5 separate regions of the Homo sapiens genome follow, and regions 1, 2, 3 and 4 are each linked to region 5. The links are contacts of gene promoters, found by promoter capture Hi-C in blood cells and fetal thymus (Javierre and others, 2016). All regions are on one chromosome and are shown on one strand. The core of a region is centred on a gene start or on the middle of the fragment in contact, and the rest is flanking DNA. Distances in the headings are between cores, read along the strand shown. Region 1 has its middle 16 kb from the start of OR4K17. Region 2 has its middle 3.3 kb from the start of OR4M1. Region 3 has its middle 25 kb from the start of OR4N5. Region 4 has its middle 3.3 kb from the start of OR4N5. Region 5 holds the start of OR4K5 (olfactory receptor family 4 subfamily K member 5).

What was found. The method cuts DNA at HindIII sites, captures the fragments that hold promoters and counts their contacts. A CHiCAGO score of 5 or more calls a contact.
Region 1: a fragment that was not itself captured here is called in contact with the fragment with the promoter of OR4K5 in region 5 in 4 of 17 cell types (naive CD4 T cells, total CD4 T cells, naive CD8 T cells and 1 more); the score reaches 6.3 in naive CD4 T cells.
Region 2: a fragment that was not itself captured here is called in contact with the fragment with the promoter of OR4K5 in region 5 in 8 of 17 cell types (activated CD4 T cells, M1 macrophages, naive B cells and 5 more); the score reaches 7.8 in activated CD4 T cells.
Region 3: a contact is called between a fragment that was not itself captured here and the fragment with the promoter of OR4K5 in region 5, in 8 of 17 cell types (erythroblasts, total CD8 T cells, total CD4 T cells and 5 more). The highest score is 10.2, in erythroblasts.
Region 4: a contact is called between a fragment that was not itself captured here and the fragment with the promoter of OR4K5 in region 5, in 5 of 17 cell types (erythroblasts, M2 macrophages, total CD4 T cells and 2 more). The highest score is 6.8, in erythroblasts.

Annotation. Positions count from the first base shown.
Region 1 is chr14:20,093,422-20,096,121 of GRCh38, forward strand. It overlaps the pseudogene OR4T1P. Among named protein-coding and RNA genes, the nearest start is that of OR4K17, 16 kb to the right of the region's middle. The HindIII fragment of the contact is 1,698 bases long and covers 481-2,178 here.
Region 2 is chr14:19,768,858-19,771,557 of GRCh38, forward strand. No RefSeq gene overlaps it. Among named protein-coding and RNA genes, the nearest start is that of OR4M1, 3.3 kb to the right of the region's middle. The HindIII fragment of the contact is 157 bases long and covers 1,265-1,421 here.
Region 3 is chr14:20,162,786-20,165,485 of GRCh38, forward strand. No RefSeq gene overlaps it. Among named protein-coding and RNA genes, the nearest start is that of OR4N5, 25 kb to the left of the region's middle. The HindIII fragment of the contact is 153 bases long and covers 1,315-1,467 here.
Region 4 is chr14:20,134,167-20,136,866 of GRCh38, forward strand. No RefSeq gene overlaps it. Among named protein-coding and RNA genes, the nearest start is that of OR4N5, 3.3 kb to the right of the region's middle. The HindIII fragment of the contact is 753 bases long and covers 1,048-1,800 here.
Region 5 is chr14:19,919,270-19,921,969 of GRCh38, forward strand. It overlaps OR4K5 (olfactory receptor family 4 subfamily K member 5), which reads left to right and starts at 1,338. Exons shown (of 1, transcript NM_001005483.1): 1 at 1,338-2,309. The coding sequence starts at 1,338. The coding sequence ends at 2,309. All of the region lies in intron 2 of LOC124903278 (a long non-coding RNA gene), which reads right to left. It also overlaps a transcript of OR4K1 not described here. The HindIII fragment of the contact is 8,373 bases long and covers 1-2,700 here.

The DNA of each region.
Region 1 (2,700 bases), core at 80-2,579, 170 kb after region 5:
GTTTCTTAAATATTTTTGTTGGCCTATGCAGCAATCATGGCAGGAAACCTCACTGCAATCGCTGTAACCTCCAATCCTCCCCTTTGCTCAACACCTATGTACTTCCTCCTTGGAAATCTCTCCTTTCTCAGTATGTTTATTTCCACAGTCACAATCTCTAAGATGGTCCAGACGTTCTCAGGGAGAATAAAACCACTTCCTCATGGGGCTGTATGGCTCAGATCTCCACTTCTTAGGAGGCAGTGAGATGACTCTTCTCATATTTATGGCTGTTGATCAGCACATTGCAATATGCAGACCTCTTCACTGCAGAACCATCACGAACTGCAGGGTACTCATGGCCACTCATGGGCTCTGTGCTGCTATCACGGGCTGTTGGTTTTGTGCATACTATAAGCCAGATTGTTTTTATTATCACCTTGCCCTTCTGTGGCCCCAGTGTGGTGGACAATTTATTTTGAGACCTTCCTCTAGTTCTGAAGCTTGCCTGCACTGAGACTTATGATCTGGAGTTGCTGGTAATTGCTAAAAGTGGACAGTTGTCTTTCATCTGCTTCATAGTCTTGCTCATTTTCTACACTATTATTCTGGTAACTGTGCAGCATCGATCCTCTGATGCACTCTCCAAGGCTCTGTCCACACTGTCTGCTCATATCACTGCAGTCACTCTATTTTTATGAGCCATGTGTCTACATTTACACTTGGCCATTTAGGAGCTTTTCAGTGGATACATTTCTTTCTGTGTTTTATTCAGTTACACCCTTACTGAACCCCATTACTTACAGTCTGAGATGAAAGCATCTATACATCAACTGAGGACCCAACACATCATCTCCAGACAAACCTTCTCTAATCAGCAATCATGAGGACAGGATATTAGTTCAGAACCCATATAAATTACGTTTCAGAATATGTTGATATTAATTTTATTTGTTGATTTCTATAAATAATATTGCATATATTGAAATTATCAAATATAATTTTTCATTATTATATTTCTATGGCATGTGTGGTTTTGTTGAAAATATAATTATCAGCCTGGGAACTCCATTACTGGGTATATACCCAAAGGAATATAAGCCATTCTATTATAAAGATACATGCATGCATATGTTCATTGCAGCACTATTGACAATAACAAAGACATGGAGTCAACCTAATTTCCCATCAATGAGAGACTGGGATTTAAAAAATGTGGTATATATACACCATAGGATACTATAGAGCCATAAAAAAGCAATGAGATCATGTCCTTTGTAAGGACATGGATGGAGATGGAGGCCATTATCCTTAGCAAACTAACACAGGAACAGAAAACCAAACACTGCATGTTCTCACTTAAAAGCAAAAGAGAACACATGGACACATAGAGGGGAACAACACACACTGGGCCTTTTGGAGGGTGGAGGGTGGGAGGAGGGAGAAAATCAGGAAACAAAACTAATGAGTACTAGGCTTAATACCTGAGTGATGGAATAATCTGTACAACAAACCCCCATGACATAAGTTCACCTATGAAACAAACCTGCACTTGTACCCCGACCTTAAAATATTTTTGAAAAAAAAAGCATAGTTATTTTCATTAACTTTCAATTCAAATTTGGGTTAATAAATTACTTTCAAAATATAATAAAAAGTTAACTAGAAAAACTGGCTTCTTAACTATATTTAGAGACTCCATGTATCTAAGACTTTCCTTAAATAAGAGAAATCAAATATAAATTTGTCTACTTTTAACTAGTAATCTTTCAGCCAAATTCTCTAAATGACCAAATGTAAACAAAGTTGTGTGAACTCTTATAAACCCACAAGCATGAACACACACACTTACATTTTTGTGCCCCTAATATGTGAAAGGATTATTATTTTTTAACAAGGCAGACAGGCTAGTTTTTATGAGTATATAGATGCATATAGTTACTGTAATCCACTGACATGAAGCATACACTTCTTCACTCTAAAGAGAAATTTCACCTGACAAAAAATTACACATAGAACATTTTAATCTTTCATGTTTTTGTTCATATTTTCTCTCATATATCTCTCCAGAAACAAGTAAGAACATTATTATTCTGCCAATTCACATGAGTAAAGAATAAATTAAGAAGCCTATATATTTTCCAGGCATTCCCTTCACAACAAAACAAAGTTTTCAATCTGATTAAGTTGCATAAAGAAAGCTTTAAAGTGTACTAAATTATAAAGTTAGATCTACGGTCCATGGACATTAGAATAAATACACATTCTATGACCTGTTTGGCATCAAATTCAAAATGCTCTGCTTTTACCCAAACATCTACTGACCCCTTAGAGGATTCTACCCGGTATTTCCTCACTGTCTCCTAAGTAATATGTATGCTATGTTAACTAGAGCTAAAAGGTGCCTTAAAGATGTATTCATAGCCATATGTGTATGGTATATTTTAAATTAAATGTTTTTTAAAAAATCATTGAGACACATTGGTACTGGGTCCCTTGGAATCACTGGACATATTTATATCTATTTCTTATCAACTATTTAAATTATAAGGTTAAATGTAGATACTGACATAACACATAATTTTTTGAATTTTTAAACATTTTGACACATTTGTATCAGATTCTCTTTTACCACCAAAGTGGATTATTAGAGATAATAAAGAACCTAAGCAACCCTCCATATTCAATTATTTTATCTTGGCAAAGATAACCACTATCATC
Region 2 (2,700 bases), core at 93-2,592, 150 kb before region 5:
GTTCAAGACAATGTTTTCTTAATAATATTCTTTCTGGATGATTTATCCATTGTTGAAAATTGGATATTAAAGTTCTCTATTAATATTGCATTGCAGTCTATCTCTTGCTTTAGATTTGTTAATATTTGCTTTATATATTTAGGTGCTCTGATGTTGGGTGTATTCATATTTATAACTGTTCTATTATCTCAATGAATTGACTTTCTTATCAATATCTAATGACCTTCTTTGTCTCTTGTGACAGTATTTAAAGTCTATTTTGTCTGATACACATGTAACTGCTACTGCTCTTTTTTGATTTTCATTTTCATGGAATATTTTTGTTTTTTACCCCTTTACTTTTAGTCTGTGTGTGTTATTAAAGGTGAAGTGAGTTTCTTGTAGGCAGCATTAAGTTGGATTTTATTTTTATAAATCAATTCAGCCACTCTTTGTCTTTTGATTAACAAAATTTGCTTATTTATAGTTGGTAAGTAAAGATTTATTATTGTCAATTTATTAATTGTTTTCTGGTTGCTTTGTAGATCCTTTATCCCTTTATTACTCCTTTGTTGTTTTCCTTTGTGATTTGATCATTTTATTTGGTGGTATGCTTTGATTCTTTTCTGTTTATCTTTTGTGTATTTACTATAGATTTTTAATTTGTGGTTGCCATGAGGCTTACATAAATATTCTTATTGTTTAACCAATTCATTTAAAGACGATAACATCTTAACTTTGATTGCTAAAGAAGCTCTGTACTTTTACTTCCCTTCTCTTACATTGTGCTTTTGATGTTACAGTTTACATTTTTTGTATGTCTTAAGAATTTATTATAGCTATAGTCATTTTGCATACATTCATCTTATAACTTTATAATGATGGTGTGATTCACACCACCACCATTATAGTGTTTGAATATTCTAAATTTAACCATATATATACTTTACCAGTTAGTTTTACATTTTTGTATGTTTTAATGTTACTAATTAGCTGCCTTTTATTTAATCTTAAAAATCCCCCTTTAGCATTTCTTGTAAGGCAAGCAATAGTGAAGACTCACTCAACTTTTTTTGTTTTTCTAAAAAAGTCTTTATCTTCTTCATTTCTGAAGGACAGCTTTGCTGGCAAAATATTGCTGGTTGGCAGTTTTATTTTTCTTCCATCACTTTGAATATATTATTTCATTCTCTCCTGATCCTCAAGGTTCCTGCTGAGAAATCCACTGATAGCTTTATTTGGGTCCTTTTTTATATGACATGATTCTTTTCTCTTGCTGCTTACAAGCTTCTCTGTTTTTGATTTTTGCCAGGCTGATGTTAACGTATGTTTGTGGATTCTTTTTTTGGTTGAATTGACTGGAGAACTTTAGGCTTCGTGCATGTGGATGCTCATTTCTTTCCGGATATTTGCTAAGTTTCCCATGATTATTTCCTTAAATAAGCTTTCTATCTAATGCTCTCTCTATTTTTCTTCTGAACCTACGATAATTCTAATGTTAGCTCTCTTGATAGTATTCCATGGCTTCTGTAGGTTTTATTCTTTTTTTTCTTTTATCTCCACTTACTGGATGATTTAAAATGCTCGGTCTTTGAGTTCACTTATTTTTTTATTCTGCTTCATTTAGTCTGATGTTCAAGCCTCTATTACATTTTTTTTTAGTTTAGCTGTTGTATTTTTCAGCTCCAACATTTCTGTTTGGTTCTTTTTAAAATATTTTCTCTCTTTATTGAGCTTCTCATTTTGTTCTTGGATTGTCTTCCTGATTTCATTAAACTATTTATTTGTGTTCTCTTGTAGTTCCCCAAGATTCCTTATGTAATTATTTTGATTTTTTCCAGGCAATTTATAGATCTCCAATTCTTTGGGGTTGGTTACTAGAAATTAATTTTGTTCCTTTGGTGGTGTCATGTTTTCCTGCTTCTTTGTGATCTTTGGGTGTTGATTTTGTCAGTGACTAAACCTGCTGGAGTCCTCTGTGGAGTTAAGTACTATAGTTTGCGCAGTGATCATTGTGGGTTCCTTGGTAGTGAAAGCAGTGTGGTATGTGCAGCTGATAATGGCAGGAGACAGACAGATTCCTAGGCAGACAGGTATAAGTCCCTGGTGAATCCCAACCTTCAAGCCAAAGACAACATGAAGCCTGAAAACCAAGCCACCAGTTCCAGGTGCAGTCCACGACCCAACTGAGAACTTCCTCAGTGCCTTTTAGTCAATTAAATGGTGCTTTTTCCAGGCCTGCCCATGAACCAGTCAGCACACATTCCTCCATTCTGAGCCCATAAAAACCCCAGACTCAGCCTCACAGATGGCTCTCTGCTTTCAGTCCCACTCTTACACAGAGGGCTACCCACTTTGGCTACTCTCTTGTTGTCATGAGTTTTTCTGCCGCTCAGTAAAAATCTCATCAGCCTTGCTCACTCTGCGGTGTCTATATGCTTCATTCCTGTTGGTTGTGGGACAAGAATCCGGAATCCACTGAACAGTGGGTGCGAAAAGAGTTGTAAGACACGCTCCTGTTCACCAAGCTACAGGAGTGAAAAAAAAAATGCTGGGTGCCACACGTCCCCAGTTGCTGAGCTGTGGGCAGCAGGACTGAATGAGCTGTGACATACCCCCATTTGCTGAAGCTGTCGGCAGTGAGAACGAACAAGAGCTGTAACACTTCCTGGGGGCTCAGACCTTGACTCCCAGAGGAAAAGCTGTAACACCTCTTTGGGC
Region 3 (2,700 bases), core at 141-2,640, 240 kb after region 5:
CCTTCTGCCTGTGAGCCTGTAAAATCAAAAGCAAGTTACTTCCTAGATACAATGGGGATACAGGCATTGAATAAATACAGCCATTCCAAATGGGAGAAATGGGAGAAATTGGCCAAAACAAAGGGGCTAGAGGCCCCATACAAGTCCAAAATCCAATAGGGCAGTCATTAAACCTTAAAGTTCCAAAATATATCTCCTTTGACTTCATGTCTCACATCCAGGTCACAGTGATGCAACAGGTGGGCTCCCAAAGCCTTGAGCACATCTGCCCCTGTTTTCTTTTTTTTGTTTTGTTGATCCTCTGTACTATTTTTTGGACTGCATTTTATTTAGCACTGCTCTGATCTTTGTAATTTCTTTCCTTCTACTAATGTTGCACTTGCTTTGTTCTTGTTTTTCCAATTCCTTGAGGTATGACAGGTTATTAATTTGTAATTTTACTACACTTTTATATAAGCATTTAATGCTATAAGTCCCTCTTACCACTGCTTTTGCTGTATCCAACAGGCTTTGGTATATTGTGTTTCCATTTTTATTGGTTTTATAATTTTAAAAACATCTCTGTCTTAATTTTTTTCATTGACCCAATTCAGGAGCATGTTGCCTAATCTTTCATGTATTTGTTTAGTTTCCAAAGTTTCTCTTAGTATTGACTTCTAGTTTCATTCAACCGTGATTGAATAAAATATTAAGAACATACTTTGATATTATTTAATATTTTAAAATTTGTTGAGACTTGTTTTGTGACCCAACACATGGTCTATCTTGGAGAATGTTCCATGTGCTGATGAGATGTATATTTTGCAGTTGTTGGATAGAATGTTCTGTAAAAGTAGTTAAGCTTATTTGGTCTAATGTCCAATTTAAGTCCAATACTTCCTTGTTGATTTTCTGTCTCAATTATCTGTCTAGTGCTATGAGCAGGGCATTGAAGTCCCCCACTATTAGTGTATTACTGTCTATGTCTTCCTTTGGGTCTAGTAATATTTGTTTTATAAATCTGGGTTCTCCAATGTCGGGTACATATATATTTAGGACTGTTATATCTTCTTATTGAATTGATCCCTTTTTCACTATATAATGACCTGTAGTCTGTAGTGTTGCCAACTTGATTCTTTTCTCTTTCTTTCTCCATTGTGTGATTTTTCTATAAGACCTGAGGGTTTTATACTCTGTGTTCTCATGATGAAAAGTATTGTGCTTTTGTTTCCAAGTTTAGAACTTCTTCAACAATTTCCTGTAGGTCCAGTCTAGTGACAGATTCCTTCACCATTTGCCTGACTGGGAAATAATTTATTTCTCCTTCATTTATGAAGCTTGATCTTGTTGTATATAGAATTCTTGGCTAGCATGTTTTTTTTTCCTTTCAGCACTTTAGTTATGCCATCTCATTCTCTTCTGACCTGTAAGGTTTCTGCTGAAAAAATTGTTGTTGGTCTAAAGTGGCTTCCTTTTTAAGTGACAAGAAGCTTTTCTATTGCTGATTTTATAATTCTTTCTTTCATTTTGAGTTTAGACGGTCTAATGATTATATCGCATGGTGACAGATTGTGTGTGTGTGTGTGTGTGTGTGTGTGTGTGTGTGTGATGTATTCACTGGGGTTTGTTGGTACTCTGGGATCTGGATGTCTAAATCTCTTGCTAGACTTAGGAAGTTTTCATCTATTATTTTATAAACTGTATTTTCTAAGGCTTCATATCTTTCTTCCTCCTAAAGAATACCAGTAATTTGTACATTAGATTACTTTATGTAGTCCCAAATGTCTCAAAGGCTTTGTTTATTCTTTTTCTTCATTTTTTATCTAACTAGATTATTTCAAGAGACCTATCTTTGTGTTCTAAAATTATTTATTCTGCTTAGTCTAGCCTATTGTTGAAGGTTTCAAGTGTATTTTGTATGTCCTTCAATGAAGTTTTTAGTGCTAAAATATCCTTTTTTAATATTTATCTTTTTAAATTTCTCATTCATTTCCTAAATACATTTTCTGATTTCTTTGTATTGGTTTTCAGATTTATCTTACATCTCACTGAGTTTATTTAAAATCAATATTTTGAATTCTTGATATGGTATTTCTAGAATTTCTCTTTGGCTAGAATCTATTGCTGGAGAATTATTGTGTTCCTTTGAGCGTGTCATATAACCTTGCTTTTTAAAGTTTCCTGCATCTTTACATTGATTTTTGCACATCTGGAGTGATAGTCACTTCTTATTTTCAAATTTACTTTCACTGGGGAGGGTCCTTTTACTCAAAGACATGACTATGATGTTGCTTGGTTAGGGGCATTTGGTTTAGCTTCTTGGTACATACAGTAGTGAATATTCTGTATAATTTCTTTGGCTATAAATAGCATTAGTGGTATGTGTGCTTTCCTTGGCTTAATATGGTGCAGTGATTTGCGGGGCTGTGGTGAAGGTGTGCTGGGGAGGGGAATGCCAGATGGCCCTATCTTCAGATTTCAATGGTAAAGGTGTTGGGCTAAGTGGGTCTATTCTTGTAATCTAGAACAGTGTTTCCTCATGTCTGCTTGGCAGTTGCAGGCAGGCTGATTCTTGAGCCTCTGGACGGCTTTCTTGAATGCCAGTTGCAGTAGCAGCGTATTGGGTGGGTGAGTGGGCTCTGGACTTCCTTGGCAGCCAATGTGGCATGGGCAATGGCAGTAGCAGTGGACACAAGATGCTCTTCAAGTTCTTGAGTTCTG
Region 4 (2,700 bases), core at 174-2,673, 210 kb after region 5:
CAGAAGGGGTCCAGTTTCAGTCTTCTGCAGATGGCTAGCCAGTTATCTCAGTACTGTTTGTTGAATAGGGAGTCCTCTTCCCACTGCTTGCTTTTGTCAACTTTGTCAAAAATCAGATGGTTGTATGTGTGAGGCTTTACTTCTGAGTTCTCTATCCTATTTCATTGGTCTATGTGTCTGTTTTTGCATAGTATCATGCCTTTTGGCTACTTTAGCCTTGTAGTATAGTAGTCAGGTAATGTGATGCCTCCAGCTTTGTTCTTTTTGCTTAGAATTGCTTTAGCTATTCAGGATCTTTTTTGTTCCATATCAATTTTAGGATTTTTTTCTAATTTTGTGTAGAATGGCATTGGTAATTTGATAGTAACAGCATTGAATCTGTACATTACTTTGAGCAGTATGACCATTTTAACAATATTGATTCTTCCAAACAATGAGCATGGAATGTTTTCCCAGTTGTTTCTGTAGGCTATGATTTCTTTCAATAGTGTTTTGTAGTTCCTTGTAGGGATATTTCACCTCCTTGGTTAGATATGCTTTTACATGTTGTTGGGTTGTGTGTGTGTGTGTGTGTGTGTGTGTGTGTGTGTGTGTGCAGAGCTATTGTAAATGAGATTGCATTCTTGATTTGTCTCTCAACCTGAATGTTAGTGCTGTATAGAAATGCTGCTGATTCTGGTATATTTATCATTTATCAGTCCTTGGAGCCTTTTAGTGGAGTTAGAGTTTTCTATGTTTAGTGTTATATAATCACCAAACAAAGGTAATTTGATATTTTATTTTTTTATTTGGATGTAATTTATTTCTTTCTCTTGCCTGATGGCTCTGGCTCAGTTTCCCAGCACTATGTTGAATAGGAATGATGAGAATAGACATCCTTGTCTTGTTCCATTTCTCAAGGGGAATGCTTCCAGCTTTTTCCCATTCAGTAAGATGTTGGCAGTGGGTATGACATAAATGGATCTTATTATTTTGAGGTATGTTCCTTCTATAAATGCCTAGTTTCTTGAGTGTTTTTCTCATGAACCAATGATGAACTGTATCAAAAGCTTTTTCTGTGTCATTAAGATGATTATACCATTTTTGTTTTTAATTCTGTTTATATGGTGAATCACAGTTATTGATTTGCCTATGTTGAACCCACCCTGCATCCCAAGAATATGCAAATAAGTATAGATGTTAGAGAACAGCCCATAGCTAGTCCTTTAATTTGTATTGCTGCCTCCAAATTAGCCAGTCAACCTGCCTGTAAAACAAAGATTCCCCCAATTCTCTAAGTTTTATCAATGTGATTTTAAATTTGGGTGGGTTTCTCCTCTACTTTTTTTTAAATTACTGATTACCATCTGTGTTCAATATCAGTAATTTACCATTAAATAAAATAAAATTTTTAATCAAACATCATGTTACACTATCAAGAACTGACTTGTCTGAAACACTGGAATCTATTTGGCACCTATTTGTGCCTTGTTTGCTATCCTGAGCAAAATATGACTGTTTGCTATTAGGTTTTGTAAACATTGATACAATTTATTTTTCAAAATAAACTAGTGATACTATTTCTTAAAGTACAAACTAAAATCTCATTTTACTAAAATTAATAACATGAAACATACAAAGAAGAAAATGAAAACCATCCCAGAGAAAGAGGTTTTCATTACCAGGATTTAGAGAGGTATTACCTATAAGGTTCTCACTGAGTAGCAATCTAGTTGCTGGAATGTCAACTCCACTGGCATGTCAAATCCCTGAGACCAAGGACCTTTAATAATCAGTCCCTAATTGCTTACCTATGTAGTAAGCTTTCCAAATGAAAAACACCCAAAACTTTTTGTAAAGTAAGGAAATACATTTTCAATTTTGTAGATGACAAAACATCATAGGACTGTCACTCATACATTTCTCCAGAAAATAATTAACTAGCATTTTTAAAATGGAAGTGGCACTGGGTCAAAACCTACAAATTTTTCAGGCAAGAAAATATAACTCAGTGGCTTTATGTCTGAGAAAACTGCCACTCAAATTAAAGGATTATAAACAAATATTTTTAATAGAATAGCTCAGCATGTATTTTTTTTCTAAAGAATCTCTTTGAATAAATTGAGAATAAACTAATTGTGGTAGGTGCAAAAAAAGTGGCCTCATTTCTACTTTTTAAAAATGCTTAACCATGCAAATATATTTCCTATGTGAAAATTAAATGTACCTTTAAAAAAGCATAGTTTTTTTCCAATCACCACCTTATCTTGTTTGGGTCTTCATAATGTTAATAAATTACACTTCCATACATAGCTATTTCATCTAAAATCTTAGGAGTTTTTAAGACATCGTGTCTATCAGCAAGTCTAAATGTCTCCACCATCAAAATACATGTCAAGTTCTCTGAATTCTTCTTACTACGGTCTCCTCCTCCCACTCTCCACCAGGCAAAGTTACCAACATCATCTTTTGTACTTGGTACTGCAACATCTTCAAACTGTTCTCCTTGCTCCTATACTTGCCTCCCTCAAACCCATTCTCCACACAATAGCCAGAACGACCTGAAGATTACAATTGTTGACATTATAATTACACACTGAGAATAACCTCCAAATGCCATGAGCTGGATAACATCTGCCTACCTCTCTAATGTTGCCTTATACTTTTCCTTCTTATGCTCACCATTTCCTCATCATGATGGTCTCCTTTCTGTGCCTTACT
Region 5 (2,700 bases), core at 88-2,587:
TAAATGAGAGACTAGGTCTGTAGCCTAGAGACAAAGGAAAGACTCTGGCTTCTTGTATGAAATAAATTAGCAGAAAAAGATGTTCATGTTCTCACATGGGACTAGAATTAGATCATTACTCTCTCAGGCCTCTTACTATGACTGTTGTCAACAGTTAATTGTCAGAACTAATATGGTTTCCTAAAACAGCACTTCTTTAAAGTTTTTCCAGTTCAACTGAACTAGATTTATACAGTAGGGGTATGTCTTTACAGGGTGAAAAACATACGATGCAAATTTTTAGATATTTTCAAGAGCATGAGAGGTTTATAATCATTTTTACTTCTCTATCCAGAAATTTTTTTTAAACTTCATTTTCCAGCATTAATTATAAAGATGTTTTAAGAAGATCATGGAGAACTCTAGCAGGGAGAATGTAAGTGGGCTGAAATCTAATTCTGATAGGCAAAGAAAATGAAAAATTTAGGTTCCACTCTTGGATAATCAACAGAAAATAGGATTTAGATAATTCAGGTAAGCCATAATATGTGTTTTAAGAAATTATTGGATAACTAATTGACAAACTCAGTTGGAACTATAGGCCAGTATAATATACATTCAATAGTATCTGTTTAGCAGGAATTGCCTAATTGTAAATGACTCCTGCAGGAGCACGAAGGTAAATTTCTATTAATATAGGGTGTTTAATGTATTAAGATCATATGTTGCAATACAATTACTTTGATGGTAGAATGTCATGAGTTATTCTGCTTAAACTCTAAAGTTTTCTGTAAAGTAGGTATTTTTATACCTCCCATCTTTTTTAAGGTGTGGAATTAAAGCTCAGATAAAATAATTGGCCAAAAGTTAATCTGTGTGACTTTACATCATGTAATAATAATCAAGCCATGAATATCTCTTCAAAAGTTAAGAATGTTGTATAATTGATGATGTAAGATGACCACAAGACAAGCAAATGTAAACACTTTTTGTCAACCTATGAGGCTTGTGGAGCTGGACTCTAGGTCACTCCTCTAGTCTTGTTGTCATGAGTCAGCTCCTGGGTAAGCTCATTTCCTACTGTATAAAAGACAAGGACTATCCAAAAACTCAAGGGGTTCTAATTATACTGATTAAATTATTAAGCATTATTTAGACATTTACATAAGTTCTTTCCTATTATCCACCTATCCAGACATACTATTATGGCCTCTTCAAAATTTTTGCATTCAGCAAATGCACATTATATCTGAGATCTCAGAATCCCTCACCTTAAAAGTATTCTTAATTCAAATTCTGATTCCTTTCTATTTATCCTCCTTTAGAGTTGTTTCAGAACAAGTTTGCAGCTTGGAACCATGGATAAGTCCAATTCTTCAGTGGTGTCTGAATTTGTACTGTTGGGACTCTGTAGTTCTCAAAAACTCCAGCTTTTCTATTTTTGTTTCTTCTCTGTGTTGTATACAGTCATTGTGCTGGGAAATCTTCTCATTATCCTCACAGTGACTTCTGATACCAGCCTGCACTCCCCTATGTACTTTCTCTTGGGAAACCTTTCCTTTGTTGACATTTGTCAGGCTTCTTTTGCTACCCCTAAAATGATTGCAGATTTTCTGAGTGCACACGAGACCATATCTTTCAGTGGCTGCATAGCCCAAATTTTCTTTATTCACCTTTTTACTGGAGGGGAGATGGTGCTACTTGTTTCGATGGCCTATGACAGGTATGTAGCCATATGCAAACCCTTATACTATGTGGTCATCATGAGCCGAAGGACATGCACTGTCTTGGTAATGATCTCCTGGGCTGTGAGCTTGGTGCACACATTAAGCCAGTTATCATTTACTGTGAACCTGCCTTTTTGTGGACCTAATGTAGTAGACAGCTTTTTTTGTGATCTTCCTCGAGTCACCAAACTTGCCTGCCTGGACTCTTACATCATTGAAATACTAATTGTGGTCAATAGTGGAATTCTTTCCCTAAGCACTTTCTCTCTCTTGGTCAGCTCCTACATCATTATTCTTGTTACAGTTTGGCTCAAGTCTTCAGCTGCAATGGCAAAGGCATTTTCTACGCTGGCTTCCCATATTGCAGTAGTAATATTATTCTTTGGACCTTGCATCTTCATCTATGTGTGGCCCTTTACCATCTCTCCTTTGGATAAATTTCTTGCCATATTTTACACTGTTTTCACCCCCGTCCTAAACCCCATTATTTATACACTAAGGAATAGGGATATGAAGGCTGCCGTAAGGAAAATTGTGAACCATTACCTGAGGCCAAGGAGAATTTCTGAAATGTCACTAGTAGTGAGAACTTCCTTTCATTAAGACAAAACTCCTTCAAATTCCTCAGGTCAATACACTGTTTAATATTTTAATGTATTTTTGTGGTGTATCTCAATTGTGGGGAAAGTAGTGAAGAAGATAATATAGAGAACATTTAATGAATATTAACAAGTCTTTTTCTAGGTATCAAGTGAAAGTTAAATATAAAAACATGGAAAAATCTCTGTTTAGATTACTGGTTCTAGAAATAAAATATGGGCACTAGATGGATAATATGTATGCATTTACTGCTTTTGTTACGGGGTAAATGTAAATATCAAGAAAAAAATCAATGAGAACCTAATTCTCTGGTGGGCATACATTCAAACATTTGTCAGGTTTTAAGAGTTTTCTTAACAACATGCCTAAAACTTCTATGTGGATGAATAGTATT